2 separate regions of the Homo sapiens genome follow, and region 1 is linked to region 2. The links are contacts of gene promoters, found by promoter capture Hi-C in human tissues and cell types (Jung and others, 2019). All regions are on one chromosome and are shown on one strand. Each heading gives the region's core, a stretch centred on a gene start or on the middle of the fragment in contact. The rest is flanking DNA. Distances are from core to core; before and after follow the strand shown.

Evidence for each region. Contacts are between HindIII fragments. The study calls those that stand out against the background at their distance.
Region 1: a fragment that was not itself captured here is called in contact with the fragment with the promoter of LRRC10B in region 2 in 1 of the 25 tissues and cell types used here (bladder).

Annotation. Positions count from the first base shown.
Region 1 is chr11:61,702,665-61,706,628 of GRCh38, forward strand. The region is part of intron 1 of DAGLA (diacylglycerol lipase alpha); the gene reads left to right. Among named protein-coding and RNA genes, the nearest start is that of DAGLA, 24 kb to the left of the region's middle. The HindIII fragment of the contact is 5,242 bases long and covers 1-3,964 here.
Region 2 is chr11:61,505,936-61,510,016 of GRCh38, forward strand. It overlaps LRRC10B (leucine rich repeat containing 10B), which reads left to right and starts at 2,814. Exons shown (of 1, transcript NM_001145077.2): 1 at 2,814-4,081. The coding sequence starts at 3,064. The coding sequence ends at 3,942. It overlaps MIR4488 (microRNA 4488), which reads left to right and starts at 2,661; the gene lies at 2,661-2,722. It overlaps LOC105369329 (a long non-coding RNA gene), which reads left to right. Exons shown (of 3, transcript NR_188527.1): 3 at 1-714. The HindIII fragment of the contact is 12,437 bases long and covers 1-4,081 here.

The DNA.
Region 1 (3,964 bases), core at 305-2,804, 200 kb after region 2:
AGTCTCCTGGCTGCATCCTGAGAACGTAGCTTTCTGTGCTCTTTCCTGGAGGTGCGCCCTCCCTCCCACAGGATGCTGTACAGAGGTGGACGCAAGTCACACGGCCCCAGATGCATAGGGAGGTAGAGGGAAGCCAGGCTTGTCAATGCTAGGGAGCCCTCCAGTAGCAGGACCACTCACTGCATTACCACAGGCAAATCACCCACAGCCCCTTCCTGCCACAGTTGCCTCATCAGTAAAATGAAGATGCCACATTTCCTCCCTGCCTCGCCCACAGCGTGGTCGTTGGTAGCCAGTGAAGTTGCATATGTGGGCAGTTCAGGATAGGGCTTTGGATCCCAGGCATGGCCAGCAGATGGTGTGGAAAGAGGCCAGGGCTGGGAGTCAGGAGCCCTGGGTTCTGGGTGCAGCTCTGCTGTGGCTCCTACGTTCTCCTGTTTCTGTCCTTCTCAGGCCGTGCTCCGAAATGGTTTCTCTTTCAGGCAGCAGGGACGTGGTGAGCTCCCCCAACCTGCCAAACCTTTACTCAGTGCAGGGAACCTGGCAAGGAAGAAAACAGGCGAGACCCCTCCCCTGAGAAGCCACACCCTGGTGGAGGGAGCCAGATGGTAAACACATTCACCAGAACTTTAGATGGTGAGAAGTGCTGATAGGAAAACTGAGTCCTATGATGGGGGCGCTTGGGGTACCTAAGATTTGGCAGGCAGGTCCCAGGAGGGGATGTTTGAGCTAGGAGCTGAATGACAGGAGGGAGCCAGCCACGCAAAGCTCTGGGGGTGGGGGTGGGGTTGGGGTTCTCTCCAGGCTAGAGGAGGAGTGAGGACAAAGGCGTTCGGCACGCCTGGCCTGTTGCAAGAACAGAGAGAAGGCCAGGGTGCCTGGGAGGCTGGTGAGGGCAGGCAGAGGCCAGGCCACAGGGCTGGCAGGCCAACGTAAGAGGGAGAGGGCTTTCTAAGTGTGATGAACAGTGTAGAATGACTGGAAATGGTGAGTGGGTAGATGGAGGATGGAGGAATGGATGGATGGATGGATGGATGGATGGATGGATGGATGAATGGATTGTAGGTGCAGCTATGGGGTGATCCCTTTTCTCCCCATCATGAGGGTCATAGGCAACACTCCTGTAACAAAAGACAGGTTAACAAGAGGAAAGCATAACAAATGTATTTAATCAAAGTTTTACGTGACATGGGAGCCTTCAGAATGAAGATCCAAAGATCCAGGGAAACTCCATTTTTATGCTTAAGTTTGAGGAGGAATGGGCAACTATGAAGAGCTATGATTGGACACAAAGAGTAAGACCCCATGGGAGCAGACTGAGTGGGGAAACCCAGCAAGGCCTGCTCTCAGATCCTTCTTGGCCTCTCTGTGCTGCATTCCTTCCTTCAGGGTATGGGGCAGGATTCTGAGTGGGGGTCTTATGATCTACTATCAAACAAAGTAGGTCAGAGAATTTCTTTTTTTTTTTTTTTTGAGATGGAGTCTCACTCTGTCACCCAGGCTGGAGTGCAATGGCACGATCTCGGCTCATGGCACCTCTGCCTCCCGGGTTCAACAGATTCTCCTGCCTCAGCCTCCCAAGCAGCTGGGATTACAGGCGCGTGCCACCATGCCCAGCTAATTTTTTATGTTTTTGATAGAGACGGGGTTTCACCATGTTGGCCAGGCTGGTCTCGAACTCCTGACCTCAGGTGATCTGCCTGCCTCAGCCTCCCAAAGTGCTGGGATTACAGGCGTGAGCCACTGTGCCCTGCCCGACCAAAGGATTTCTTTATGGCCAGCTCTTACGCAGAAAGGCAGGAGAAGGCTAATACTTTTAGGTTTTATGGGTGGCTTTAGGGGAAAGGAGTTCTGGTTTCTGTGACCTGCCTTGGGAAAGAGGAATTCTAGTTTCTATGGCTTGCCTCTGGGGAGAGTGAGGGGTGGGGAAGAGAATTCTAGTTTCTGTGGTTTGTGTCGGGAGAGTAAGGGATAGAGACAGGAAGGCAGGAGATGTTCAGAGAAAAGCTTTGCTTCTGAGGCTGTTTGTGAGGCGTTCACTTTGGGGTACCATTTTCTGAGCCCCAACATGTGGTTGGGAGAGTGGATGACTGGCATACAGAGACCCTCTTTCCATTCCCCTCCTGTAGTAGGTTGAATTAACTCTGAGAGCTCCTCTGCGTAGTCCTATTCATGGTCGGGCCCGGATGGCAGGAAGAGTGGGGAGCTGAATGTTCAGGAGAAATGCCTCAAACCCCCTCAAGCACATGATTGGGAACCCTCAGCGGTGGGAGCAGAGCCCACTGACTGCTCCTGAGTGGGACTCCTGGACTGACATCCTGACCTGCCGTGCCCGGGCTCGCCTGAGCTCGGGACTGGGCTGAGCTGAGACTGGGGGGAGGGGGAGGACACAGACTTCACCTGTGTTCACAGAGCCCAGGGCTGACTCCCGGAGCTGTTGCTCTGAGGGTGGGATGGGCAGCCCCAGGCCTCCGTTCTCAAGGCGTTCCTCTGGGATCCAGTGCCCCCTCTGCCCGCCCAATTGCACGGGCCAGACAGCTGGGGTCGTCTTTGACAGCGCCAGTGTTACAGCGAGCAGTAAACATCCTTAATACCTGCCCTGTCTGTCCCCATTTTGTCTGCTGAATTTCCATCTGGGCCACCCACTTCTCTTCACCCTCGCACCCACCTTGGCTTGTCATTCCCAGGCTCAGAGTCCAGGGCCTGGCCCTGCCAGCCTGCCTGCTTTGGCCTCCTCTCTGCTGGCCTGACTCTGGCCTTTTCTCCATCCTCCAGGCCTCCACTGTCCTCACATCCAGGCCCTGCTGCCGAGGGTATCCTCCAGTGCTTGTTCCGCTCTGCTCTCTCCTGTGGTTGCTTCCCTCTGCTAGTCCTTCAGAAACAGCTCCAGCTCCTAGTTCTATAGGCAGCCTCCCCGCCTGAGCACGTGTCAGAGGATTTTTCTTTGTTGTATGTGAAGGTTCACTTGAAGTTTCTTTCCTTCTGGTCTGCAGGCTCCATAAGGGCTGGCACCATGTCGGCTTTTGTCACCATCCACCCAATCCCTGGCACATAGTAGGCACTCTGGTGATTTGTGGATGGATGGAGAATGGCTGCATGCACTAACTTGACTTTAACCAGATTTCACCTGTGTTCACACCACCCAGGGCCCACCCTCAGGGCTGTTTCCAGCCTTTTCTACTCTGAGAGCCTGCCCCTGCCCTAAACCAGGGACTCTGGAACCAAGCCCTGGCCATCTGTGGGTGTTGGTGTCTTCACACCTGCCGAGGCCAGGACCACCTCCTGTCCTTGCTCCTGGGCCAGCCCAGCCTGGGGTTTGAGGCCTGGGCCTGTCTGGGATCTCTGGAGGAGGGAAGGGCTCACTCAGAAGCGTGCTACCAAATGGAAGAATGAAATCGTCAAGGACTCATCTGAGCAACTGCAGAACAGTCTAACAGGGCCCCTTTCGAAGTAGAGTACACCCCAGGGAGGCTTCCAGGGTGGTGACAAGTTTGGAAACCAGGCTGAATCAAGAATCGAGGACAACCGTAGGACTGAGAAGTTGGGGGCGGGGAAGGGACTCAGGATCAAATGGCTTTGGAGCCTTCACCCTTGAGCTGGGCTCCAGAGGGCAGTGGGCATGGAGGAGAATGAATGGCAGCAGGTCTCAGGCTGAGCCAATGGCCCTGGGTGCCATGTCTCTTTCGGGTCTTGGGCTGGCCAGGGCTCTGCTCCCAGGGACCTGGTGTCTGCACCCCACCCATGAACATGTCGAGGTGCAAGTTGGAGGAAGCTCTAGGTTTGGAAGCCATCTCCCTCAGTGTTGGGGTTTTATCTGCTGGCCGAGGGCCCTGCTCGTGGTTGGGGGTGGGCTCTAACCTGTGAGGATTTTCTGGTCGTCAGGCTCTGTCTAAAACAGGCGGGGGGTGCACCCAGGAGGCCTCAGAGCCCATGATTCTAGGTCACCTCCCACAACATCCAGAGA
Region 2 (4,081 bases), core at 1,564-4,063:
TTTACCTTTACCCACTGAGAAGGGCCTGGTGGGAGGTGAAGGTACAGGATCTGCCGAGAGCAAGAAAAAGACTCTGAGAAAGAAGAGGGCTGGTCCTCCATGCTCTCGGCCCCAGGAAGCTCTGCCAGGCTGGTGCCGGGGTGGAGAGGCTCATGTGGGCTCATGTGGTGCTGCCTGTGCTGATGGAGCCCAAGAGGGCAGCCTGGCGCTGGGTGCCAGCCTGAGCATGTGGCGAGGCTGGGCTGCTGAGCCTCCTCCTCCACAGCCAATGTTCCCTCAAACTGCTTGGGGGTGGGGGGAGGGACTCATCCTCATCCCATTAGCCTGGCTGGGTATTCCCTACCTTTCTGGTCTCTGAGAGACTTACCTCTTCCAAGAAGTCCTCCCGAATGAGTAGAAGGGAGAGAGCTGGATTGGAACTTAAGTGACATCTGGGAGGAGCCTGAAGCCCCTCCGGTTGGGGCTGAGACTCCTATACCCTAGGTCTGGTGTCTGGGTTCCACCTGGGTCCTCTACCTTGGCCTGGATTCCTGCTTTCGTTTTGCCAGTCTCTCCCAGGATGGGGGTGCATGGCTGGTTCGTGGCTCAGAGCAACATCTGCCTCTGTGTCCCCCCATCATCTGTCCGCCCCCTAACACCTCTTGCCATATTAGAATTGCTATTGCTCTGTCCTTTCATTCATGTATCCAACAAATATATATTATCTGAAAAAAAGCATGTGCTGAATAATTTCATTTGTGTGAAATTCAAGAACAGGGAAAACTGATCCATAAGGATAGAGGTCAGGATCATAGTTGCCTCTGTGAGGTGGGGATTGACCGCAAGAGGCTTGAGAGAACTCTTGGGTTGATGGAAATGGGACAGGGGTGTGTACATTTGTCAAAACGCATCCAAGAAGACACTTACGATCTATGCATTTCACTGTATGCAATGTTTGCCTCCACTTTTTTTGTTAAGTTTTTTTCAGCAAGGCGCAGTGGCTCATGCCTATAATTCCAGCACTTTGGGAGGCTGAGGCAGGTGGATCACCTGAGATCAGGAGTTCGAGACCAGCCTGACCAACATGGTGAACCCCTGTCTCTTCTAAAATACAAAAATTAGCTGGGCGTGGTGGTGGGCACCTGTAATCTCAGCTACTTGGGAGGCTGAGGCAAGAGAATCGCTTGAACCCAGGAGGCGAGGCGGAGGTTGCAGTGAGCCAAGATCACGCCATTGCACTCCAACCTATGCAACAAGAGCAAAACTCTGTCTCTAAATAAATAAATAAATAAATAAATAAATAAATAAATAAATAAAAATTTGCATGGAATGTCTACTGTATGCTCTAGAGCCTGTGCCAGCAGGGAAGGAGATGCCCAAACCTCCCTGGCTGGGCAGCTTACTTTCCAGTGGGGATGGTTCCCTTCCTCCCGTTGCATTGGCAACTGCTCTCTGCCCTTGGGCTGTCTTCCATCCCCCTTCCCCTGCAGTGGGGATGGCAATGGGGGTGGGCCAAAGGGCAGCGTGCTCTCCTGAAGTCAGTCCACTCAGCCAGTTACATGGGTCACACCAGCCGGGTTCAAGAGAAGGCAGGAGGCAGGAGGCTTGGAGCCCGAAAATTTGGCTCCCGGGCTGCAACCTCTATGCATTGTGTGACCGTAAGCAGGGTGCCTAATCCCCGCGAGGCCACTTCTCTCATCTTTCATGTGGGATTATAGTGCTGTCTTTGTAGCTTTGTCCAGAGAATCAGAGGCTCTGTTGTGAGAAAATTCATTGCTGGAGGTGGAGTGAACCTTGTTTCCATCTATCGGTATGGTTTATGGTTAGGAACACAGGCTCTGGAGTCACACTACCTGGCTTCGAATCCAGCTGCTCATCAGCTGGGTGACCTTGGGCACTTCACTCAGCTCAGACTGACCCAGCTCAAGTCATGTCTCTTTGACCCTCAGTTTCTCCATCTTTAAAATCGGGGTGATGAGGGTGTCTACCTCATAGGCTGTGCCAAGGACTCAACGCAATGCTTTCAGCATAGTGCTGGGCACACGTGGGCTCGAAGCCAGTGACAGCCAGTGCTTTTCTGCCAGGAGCTCCCGCAGGAGGGCTCCGGATGGGAGGTGGGGGGAGAAGGCAGGGGGGAACTGCTGCTGGTGGTAGCAGGCGAAGGAAGAAGAGTCATGGAATGAGAGTGGCCATGATTGGTGGCTCAAAGGCGTTCACGTGTCCCAGTCCTCTGTCCACCGCAGCCACACACAGACTTTGAGCGTCGGTGGAGGGATCCTGGCAGGAGAGAGGGGTGTGAGTGTAGCAATGAGGAAGCTGTAGGGCAATTAGGCGGGGCGGAGCCAAGCCCTGGGGCCCGGTAAAACCAGCAGATGTGAAAAGGGCCGGACAGTAACACTGTTTCGAGTTACTACACTGAAGTGATCCCAGCAGGTAGGCCGGCCGCACGCCGCTGGACGTGAATGGCTCGCAGTGACCGCGCCCCTCAGCCCCTCCTTGTGAGCCTCTAGTCCAGAGTCTTTGATCCACCGCCAGCGTTTCCTTCGCCTTCTTGGACCCGCGGCTCTGGGGCGCACACAACCGCACACCAAACAGCGTCGGGCGTCGGGTCTCAGTGCCAGGCTTGGCCGGGGCGGGGAATCTCTCGGCTTGTGCTTGCTCCGCGGTGGGCTGGATGGGCAGGTAGGGGGCGGGCTCCGGCGCTGGGACCCCACTAGGGTGGCGCCTTGGCCCCGCCCCGCCCCGCCCTCCCTCCGCCTCATTGGCAGCCGCACGCGCGTCGGGGTTGCCAGGGCGACGGGTCGCTAAGCTGCGAGTCAGCGCGAACCCTAGCCAGTCGGCCTCCGGCGGAGGCAACGGGGGAGGCCCGAGGGCGGGCGGTGGAGCGCGGCGCGCGGCGGCGGTGCCCCAAGTGGGTGCCTCCTCCCGGCCCCGCACGGCCCCCCTCCCGGCGCGGGGGAAGGCCGGGGCGGGGGGCCCGGGGGCCGGCGCGGCTCCGGCACCGTCGGGGCGGCTGGGGGGCGGCCGGGGCGGGGCGATGCCTGGCGGTGGCAGTGGCGGCGGCCCCGGCCGGGGCCCGTGACCATGGGCATCGCCGAGTCCACGCCGGATGAGCTGCCGTCGGACGCAGAGGAGCAGCTGCGCAGCGGCGACCAGCAGCTGGAGCTGAGCGGGCGGCGGTTGCGGCGGCTGCCCAGCGCAGTGTGCGCGCTGAGCCGCCTGCAGAAGCTGTATGTGAGCGGCACGGGGCTGCGCGAGCTGCCGGAGGAGATCGAGGAGCTGCGCGAGCTGCGCATCCTGGCGCTGGACTTCAACAAGCTCGAGCGACTGCCTGACGGCCTGTGCCGCCTGCCGCGCCTCACGCGCCTCTATCTGGGCGGCAACCGGCTGCTGGCGCTGCCCGCCGACTTCGCGCAGTTGCAGAGCCTGCGCTGCCTCTGGATCGAGGGCAACTTCTTGCGGCGCTTCCCGCGGCCGCTGCTGCGCCTGGTGGCGCTGCAGTCGCTCCAGATGGGCGACAACCGGCTGCGCGCGCTGCCGGCCGAGCTGCCGCGCATGACGGGCTTGCGCGGCCTCTGGCTCTACGGCAACCGCTTCGAGGAGTTCCCGCCCGCGCTGCTGCGCATGGGCCGCCTGCACATCCTCGACCTCGACCGCAACCGCCTGGGCGGCTTCCCCGACCTGCACCCGCTGCGCGCGCTGCGCGTCTTCTCCTACGACCACAACCCCGTCACCGGGCCCCCGCGCGTCGCGGACACCGTGTTCCTCGTGGGCGAGGGCGCCGTCGAGCGCATGGCGGAGCGCGACGAGCCCACGCCCCGGCCTCCGCCCCGGCGCCCAGCGCGGGCCTTTGAGGATGAGGAGGAGGAAGACCTGCTCATAGGCGGCGCTGGTTCCCGGGCTCTGGGCGCCCCCGGGGGCAGCTTCCGCGCCCTGGAAGCCGCTCCAGGACTGGGCACCTGAGCCTATGTTCTGGCTGATGGGCTTCAGCCACTCTGAGAGGAGGGGCTCTAGGAAGCTTTGGCTGGTTAGGCCTGCGGGACTGGTGGGTCCCTACTTAGGTCAATGGAACGGCTACTTTTGGCGAGTTGCCGGGCACAGG